Regions from separate parts of the Homo sapiens genome. Here region 1 is linked to region 2. Evidence: promoter capture Hi-C in 16 types of primary human blood cells and fetal thymus (Javierre and others, 2016). All regions are on one chromosome and are shown on one strand. The core of a region is centred on a gene start or on the middle of the fragment in contact, and the rest is flanking DNA. Distances in the headings are between cores, read along the strand shown.

Region 1 (4,249 bases), core at 1,346-3,845, 610 kb before region 2:
GAGTAACGTGGATTGGATTTACCCTCCCACTTTTGTCACTTAAAATAAATAAAAAAAAGGTTTCCATCCACTGCACTACAGGAAAGATAAATGAAGGAAGCAATACAATTTTCCTAACTTAAAGCCTGGGGAAAGTTTCCAGGTCACAGCAGAGTAGAGGGAATCCAGGCAAGGTCACCTTATCAAGAGGACATTACAATTCTAAGAAAAACTGATAAAACTTCAAGAAGAAATAGTCAATTATCATCAGAGATTTTAAAATCCATTTCTCAGTAATTGATAAAACAGAGATGGAAAATCAGTAATTATATAGAAGCATGAAGAACACTATCAACTAATTTGACTTAATTGATATTTATAGAACACTCCACTCAACAACAGTGGAATATACTTCCTTTCAAGTGCACATGGAAGATTTATCAAGAAAAATTCTGAACCATAAAACAAGTATCAATAAATTAAAATTATTCAAATCCTACAAAGTATATTCTCTGATCACAATGAAATTATATTAGAAACAATAGAAGGGAATGTGGAAGCTAAAATATTTGGAAACCAAAACACACCTAAAAATGACTTATGGGCCAAAGAACAAATGAAAGAGGAAATTAGAAAGTATTTTGACTGAATAAAAATGAAAAAATGAACATATCAAAATTTGTGAGTTGCAGCTACAGCAATACTTAGAGGAAAATTTATAGCACTAAAATGTCTATATTAGAAAAGAAGAAAAGTCTTAAATCAATGAACTAAGCTCCTGTCATAAAAACCAGAAATAAATATGAGCAAATTTTGTCAAAAGTAAGAAGAAAAGAGATAATAAAGATAACAGAATAAATCAGTGAAATAGGAAACAGAAAAATAATAGAAAACCAATTAAGGCAGAATGTGGTTCTTGGAGAAGATCCATAAAATTGAAAAACATTTAGATAGAGAGAGAGATGATACAAATTTCCAATATCAGGAATGAGAGAAGAAAAATCACAGTCTGCAGATTAAAAGGATAATGAGGGAATATTGTGAATAACTTTAGGCTGGTAATTTCAACAATTTAGATGACATGAACAAATTCCATGAAAGACACTAACTAGTAAAGCTTACTGAAAAAGAAACAGCTAACCTGAATAGCCTTATATCTAATAAATAAGTTAAATGTGTAATTAAAAACTTTCTCACAAAGAAAACTCTAGGCCCAGATGGCTTCACTGGTGAATTTTACTAAACATTTAAGGAAGAAATGATACCAATTATACAGAAACTCTTCCAGAAAACTGAAGACGAGGGAATACTTCCCAACTCATTCTGAGAGCAACATTACCCTGATACTAAAATCAGACAGAGATTATAAGAAAACTATAGACCAATATTCCTCATGAAAATAGATACAAAAATTCTTAAAAAATTTTAGCAAACCACATTGAACAATGTATGAAAAACATATGTTATGACAAATGGGGTCTATCCTGGGAATGGCAGGTTGGAACCAACCCAAATGTCCAACAATGATAGACTGGATTAAGAAAATGTGGCACATAGACACCATGGAATACTATGCAGCCATAAAAAATGATGAGTTATGCAGCCATAAAAAATCATGTCCTTTGTAGGAACATGGATGAAGCTGGAAACCATCATTCTCAGCAAACTATCGCAAGGACAAAAAACCAAACACCACATGTTCTCACTCATAGGTGGAGATTGAACAATGAGAACACATGGACACAGGAAGGGGAACATCACACACCGGGGCCTGTTGCGGGGTGGGGGGAGGGAGGAGGGATAGCATTAGGAGATATACCTAATGTTAAATGACGAGTTAATGGGTGCAGCACACCAACATGGCACATGTATACATATGTAACAAACCTGCACGTTGGGCACATGTACCCTAAAAATTAAAGTAAAAAAAAAATCATCATATCAAACTAAAGAAGACAAACTCTACTATCATCTCGATAGATGCAGAAAAGGCATTTGATAAATGTCAACATCCATTTGTAGTAACAGAATCTCTTAGCTAAATAGAAATTAAAGGGAACTTTCTCAACCTGATAATGGGCATCGACAAAATTCCTATAGCTAGCATCTTATCTAATGTTGAAAGACTGAATGGTTTACCTCTAAAATTAGGAGCATGGACCAGGTGCAATGGCTTACGCGTGTAGTCAGCATTTTGGGAGGCTGAGGCAGGAGATCACTTGAGGTCAGGAGTTTGAGACCAGCCTGGGTAACACAGCAAGACCCTGCCTCTACAAAAAATAAATGGATTAGTCAGGTGTGGTGGCATGTGCCTGTAGCTACTCAGGAGGCTGATGTGGGAGGATCGCTTGAGCCCCAGAGGGGCCAAGGCTACAGTGAGCCATGATTGCACCACTACACTCCAGCCTGGGAAACAGAGTGAGACCCTGTCTCAAAAATAAATAAATAAATAAAATAAAATAAAATAAAATAAAATAAAAAAGATTGGGAACATAAATTTCCTTGCTCATACTCAGCATCATAGTGGAGATCCTAGTCAGTGCAATGAGACTATAGGTTAGAAAGGAAGAGGTAAAACTCTCTTTATTTGCAGGTGACATAATTGTCAATGTAGAAAATAACAAAGAAATGTAATAAACACATGCAAAAACTGCTAGAACTAATAAGCGAGTTTATTTAAGTCACAGTACATAAGGTCAGCATACAAAAGAATTAATAATATTTCCATATACGATCAATAAACAATTGGAAATTAAAAGTACTATGTATAATAACATCCAAACCATAAAGTATTTAGGTATAATTCTTAGAAACATATGCAATATATATGTACTGAAAACTACAAAGCACTGATGTGAGAAACCAAAGAAAAAAACTGAATAAATGAAGAGTCATCCTTGTTCATGGACTAGAAGACTTAATATAATTAAGTTGTCAATTTCCCCCAATTATTAGAAATGCAACAACATCCTAATAAAAATTCTAATGGTCTTTTTCTTTAATGGTCTGTTTTATATTAATGGGCAAACTGATTCTAAGATTTAAAGGGAAAGGGAAAGGAACTGGAATAGCCAAAACAACATAAGAAAACAGAATCGGAAGACTCACACTGGTTGTCTTTAAGACTTAGTATAAAGCTGCAGTAATCGAGAAAGTGTTTCATTAGCAAAGTTTAGTCACTTAGAACAATGGAATAAAGTTCATAAATAGACCCATGCTGATATGTTCAGGTAATTTTCAACAGATGTACAAAGGCACTAATTGGGGAATGATAATCTTTTCAACATACGGAACTGGAACAATTGGATAGCCATATGCCAGAAAGAGAGAGAGAGAGGGAGACAGAAGGAGAGAGAGAGAGAGAACAAAAAGAATGAAAAAGAGCTTTGTTCCATATTTTGCACCGTATACAAAAATTACCTTAAAATGAATCGTAGACCTAAATGTCAAACCTCAATGAATAAAATATGATTAGAAGAAAACATAGGAAAAAATCTTTGGGACCTTGAGCTATACAAGGTTTCTGAGATTGATTTCTTAGATTTGACATTGAAAGCACAATTCATAAAAGAATAAAAAATTGAAAAATCGAACATCATAAAAATTTAGAATTTCTTTGAAAGATACTATTATGAGGATGATAAAATAAGCCACAGATTGGGATATTTGCAAATCACGTATCTGTTAAAAGGCTTGTATCCAGAATATATTAAGAACTCTTAAAACTCAATAACGAGAAAATAAACAACTCAATGAATAAATGGGCAAAAAATTCGAATAGACATTTCACCAAAGAAGATATATTAATGTTAAATGTGCATGTTCAACATCACTGGTCCTTAGGAAAATGAAAATTAAAACTGCAATGAGATGCCACTACATACCTATTAGGATAACTCTTAAAAAGTTATTGCACTAGCAAAATTAAGTGCTGGCTAGGATGCAGAGCAATGGAAATCTGGGAATGAAAAATGGTACAGTTACTTTGGAAAACTGACAGTTTTCTTATAAAAGTAAATATACACTTACCATCTGACCTAGCAATCTCACTCCTAGATGTTTACCCAAGTGCAGTGAAAACATATTCACAAAAAAATCTGCATGCAAATATTTATAGAAGCTTTACTTACATAACTGGAAACAACCCACATGTTCTTCGCCTGGTAAATGGAGAAACAAAAATTGTAGTATATTCATAGTTACATGCAACAAAATTGATGAACCTCAAATGCATTATGCTAAGTGAAGAGTCAGGCTTACAAGGTGCATT
Region 2 (4,532 bases), core at 2,033-4,532:
AAATTCTGCATGACCTTCTTTGCAGGGTCTGGGCTTTAGGGAAGTGTGGGGGAGAGAGTAATCTATGCTGGGAAAAGCCTGATCACTGATTAGACTTAGGGCCATCAATCTTCCTTGCTCTGGAAATGACTGATGAACCTGAGGCACTGCTCAGAGTCAATGGAAGTTCCAGGGACAAATGAGAGCCAGTTTTCGATGTCAGAAGAGCAGCAGCTCCTGTGTCCTAGGTGGGGCTTTTCTGCAAGGCTGAGAAATCTGGGGTGCTGTTCTTACTGTCGGAAGCCACCCAGTTTCCCCTTGTCTTTATGTGGGAGTTTGTGGGGCCTGATTCAATAGCTAACCCAACCCCAGTGGCAGAGAAACAAAGTTTCTTCTGAGGGAAGATTAACGATTAACACAAGTCACTGTGGAAGCTTCAAATACACAGAGAGAAGAATGTCAGAGACCAAGAGAAAGTTCCAGAGTCTGGAGCCCAAGCAGGCTTGGGTGGGGTGAAGGAAGCACATGTTGAGGCACGCAGGACTGTCCAGTAAGGAGCTGATAACCAGGGAGAAGGAAATTCCTTTGCATCCAGGGCTAAGGTCCAGGGAGGGCATGAGAACACACCAGCTTCAGAGGTGGCTTCAGATCATCCAGGGCCTGAGACAAGCTGGGTGACACCAGAGGACAGACAACTAGGCAGCAGGTTCCTGCAGGGCTGAGAATCCTACCAGACATAGCAACAGGTTCCAGCAGCCCCTGCTGTCAGGGCTCCTGGGTGGGGACTTGGTGAAGAAGGGGACCTGGGCACAAACCTAGAGGAGAGCTAAGTGAGGCAAGAGTCTTGGAGCTCAGGTGTCCTGGTGGGGCTGGCACCAGCCCGGAGCAAGGTGGGGCATTAAACTGTTTGACAGTGAGGCAGGTGGGTGGGGAGGGCAGCAGGTACACTGTGTACCGGAGCTTCTAGGCAGGTTTCAAAGTAGACTCTCAGCCTGTCTTTACAAATAACGCCATTCAGTCATTCATTCATTCAGTCAGCCAGCCAGCCAGCCAGCCAGGCAGTCGGTCTATAAATGCCAGTCACCAAGCAGCTTCTGCACGCCAGGCACTGTGTGAGGATGGAGATGGATAGGGACCAATGGCTGCATGGACACAGTGGGAGGCTGACCTTGGCCTCAGGTTCACTGGCTGTGGAGCCAGCAGGTGCTCCACAAACATTTAGGTGTGTGTTTGGGTAAAGGAGGGGTTAGATGAGGAGGAGGAACCATCTGAACACCTGAGTTTTAAGGATGATTTGGATTTTCCAAAGGCCACACCTAGTAACAGTTTGTGTTTTGAGTGCAGCTCTGAATCAGAGACCTCAGTTTTATGGCAATTGCCTATGGAAAGATTGAGGGAACCCCTGTTCTTGTGTCCCCAGGAAAGAGAAGTTCCTTGGCAGGGCAGAATCTGACCATCGTGGAGTGAAGGCAAGCATGTGCAGGTGCTCAGGGGCTTATCACCTACTGCCTCCCCCAGTGCCTTCACCTCAGCTGTGTCACGATGTCACTCTGAGAGCTCCCCTAGAGCGAAAGCAACTCAGGATAGAAGCAGACATTTTAGTTTTGGCTTTTCCCTTCCTTTCTCCGACCCTGGTGCCCTGAGTAATGATAAACTGAACCTTATTTCCACCTATTCTAATTCATGCCCTTCTTACTTTAGCAGAGCTAGAAACACCCACTGTTTAGAGCCACTCAAATATTAAGCATCTTTATTTCTACTTAAAGGGATTTATCTTAGCACCGATTAAGGCTTACCCACAAGGCAAGGCTCTTTCTGTGTCCTCACGCTGTCACTCCTAAAACTTTCCAGAACTACAAGTGACCCAGCTCTCAGTCAGGAAGGGCTCCCCTTTCCACCTCTAATCAATTTTCTGCCTGGGCTTAATTTCCTCCATAGACATTAGGGAGTCACAAGGAATTAAAACAAAGGAGAACACAGGATTTCTGTGTAAAATTCTTTTCTTCCTAGGGTTTGTTTTTTTGACCTTGGTGAGTTATTTCACCTCTGGTGGCCTCAGATTCCCCAATCATCCCTTGAGGAGTGTGAACTAAAGGCTCTCTGAGATCCATAATCTCAGTGGCTCTCAACTGTGCTCTGTCTCTTACCCTGGGGAGTTCATGATCTGTAGAGGAAAAGTGGGCTTCCTCATCAGAGAGCTCCTAGAATGACAGGCATGATGGGCATATGTTAGGCTCCCCACTGAGATTTGTTGAATAAATGAGGAAATAAACACTGTGGTGGGGACACCGTTGCTTTAAGCAGGAACAGCTCTGACCCTCGGAAAGCCCCCAGGAGATACAGACCCAGAAGGAGGAGGAAAACCTTGCAGCCAGCAGGATCTCTAGGTATTGGGGCTGGAGCTGGCAGTGGGCAAAAGTGGAGAAGGATTCAGCATTGAGGACCCCATGGATGGGCTGCAGGGAGGCAGGTAGAAAAGGCTTTTGGGTTTTCAGGTGGGGGGCAGTCTAGCCTGATCAGAAAGGAGGAAAAGGCCAGGGCCAGATGTCTGGGTGGAGTGAAGGGAAAAAGTGATCCCAGAAGAAGGATTAGCCCCTGAAAGTCCCTGAAGTAGGAGAAGGGTAAAGGTGTGGTTGGTGAAGGAAAGCAGGTTTTCCCAGATTAGCAACCAGTCAGGGGGAGGAAGGTGAGAGTGGGAGAGTCATAAGTAAATTATTCTGAATGTGTGTAGTTTAATGGAATTGGGAAAAAGATGGGGGAAATGGATGGAAGGGTCTTGGACTCTGAGACAAGGGGTCTATAATCAGTCCATTTCATTATTTCTAGCTTCCACCTTCACCAAGGCAGACAAGGAGGGCCCACCTCAGCTCCTCTGCTCCCCCTCCCTTTCCCACCTATTCATGTGTGCAAGAGTGCCCTGTCCCACAGAACACGGGGAACAACCATCTCAATGACAAGGACAGCAGGTGGCAAGGCCTCAACAGGACTCAGATGTCCCCCCAGGGTTAACTCATGAAACCCTCCATGAAGCCTGCTGCTCACCCCTCCCTCAAGGCAAGCCCTGCACCTGGGTCTGAGGATGAGGGTGGCAGTGAAAATTAGGCCAGTGACATCATTTTCAGCCAGCCAGTGCCAAAAAATATCAGGTGGTGTTCATCAAAAAAGCTGAGCCAACCGGTGATGAGGATGGTAGTGTGAGTCATGTGTGACAGGTGAGGAATGAAAACAGAGTGCCCGAGAGCTTCTATTTCCTTGAGGCAGGGCTCATTCATCTTATAAAAGCCAGCTGGCCATTGCCTTCACACCAAACCCAAGGGACCACACAGCCCATTCTGCTCCGTATACCAGGTAAGTCTCTGATTGCAACAAACTGGCAATTCTAGTGTACTTTTTCATTATTAGAAATTAGCTAAAGGCAAATATGTGTAAGCAGGTTAATCCAGGGTTTCAATGGGAGATAGAGAATAGTGGAATATCTTTATTTTAAGTTAAATTACAGTCTGGATTTGAAAGGACCTTAGAGATGGTTAGGGCTCCCACCTCAGTAGATAGTCATTGAACTGGGAGTCCTGGAGAAGATTGTTCAAATGCCCATGGGAAGTTCATAGCAGAACTAGAACTCAGGCCCAGAGCACTCTCAGTAACACTGCAATTTCCCCCTGACAAGATATTTATAGAAATTTTAATTTATTAGATGGATCTCTACTGAGCATTTATTCCATTTAAGGCAGTATGCTAGGCACTTTGGACAAATCAATGCCTAACGTACTTACTTAACAAACATAAAACCTAGCAGGAAGGTAATACATATATATAAATAAATGAAATGCAAAGTAGATAGTAATTGGCATGACGGAGATGGGCAGAGAAGGGCTGTGCACTTTTGGGAGACCTTGCTCAAGGAGACCCTCCTAGGGGTGTCAAGTGATGTGAGCTATGATGGAGGGGTATTTGGACAAGCAGAGATGGGAAGAAAAGCATTTGGAAGGGACTGTGTAAGCACAGACCAGAAGCAAAACCATAGAGGCTTAGATGAATATAAAGCCATCCTATAAGTCACAGGCTTTCTACATGGTACTAGGAGAGGAAAGTGGTCTGATGCCATTTTCCAAAAGACCTAATATGCGGACCTCATGTCCCTCAGAAGCCAGCTTTAGTAGGGCATTTTTCCAGAACAGATATAAGTTGCCTTGGGTAGGAAGGGAGCCAAGAAGAGAACTCCAATAAAATGGAGCAGAAGAAATTGCCTTTTAGCTCCTCCTCTTCAAAGGGCCTGAAAATTATCCAAGCTTATTTCATTTTTAAATGTAATGGGGGAGTTAAGGGAGATGAAAGGCTTTCTCTTCTAAAGGGTCCTGAAATAAAATCTGTTTGGCATTGAATTTGTATCCATCTTTCTTTAATTGAATCACTGTGTCAGCTTTCTGTCTCTAGAAAAAAACACATTTGAAGCATGAATTCTCAGCAGCAGAAGCAGCCTTGCACCCCACCCCCTCAGCCTCAGCAGCAGCAGGTGAAACAACCTTGCCAGCCTCCACCCCAGGAACCATGCA

Evidence for each region. Contacts are between HindIII fragments. The CHiCAGO score rates a contact against its expected background, and 5 or more counts as called.
Region 1: a contact is called between a fragment that was not itself captured here and the fragment with the promoter of SPRR1A in region 2, in 1 of 17 cell types (M1 macrophages). The highest score is 5.6, in M1 macrophages.

What each region holds. Positions count from the first base shown.
Region 1 is chr1:152,368,820-152,373,068 of GRCh38, forward strand. No RefSeq gene overlaps it. Among named protein-coding and RNA genes, the nearest start is that of FLG2, 11 kb to the left of the region's middle. The HindIII fragment of the contact is 3,003 bases long and covers 1,095-4,097 here.
Region 2 is chr1:152,980,799-152,985,330 of GRCh38, forward strand. SPRR1A (small proline rich protein 1A) reads left to right here and starts at 3,283. Exons shown (of 2, transcript NM_005987.4): 1 at 3,283-3,327; 2 at 4,414-4,532. The coding sequence starts at 4,433. The HindIII fragment of the contact is 3,855 bases long and covers 412-4,266 here.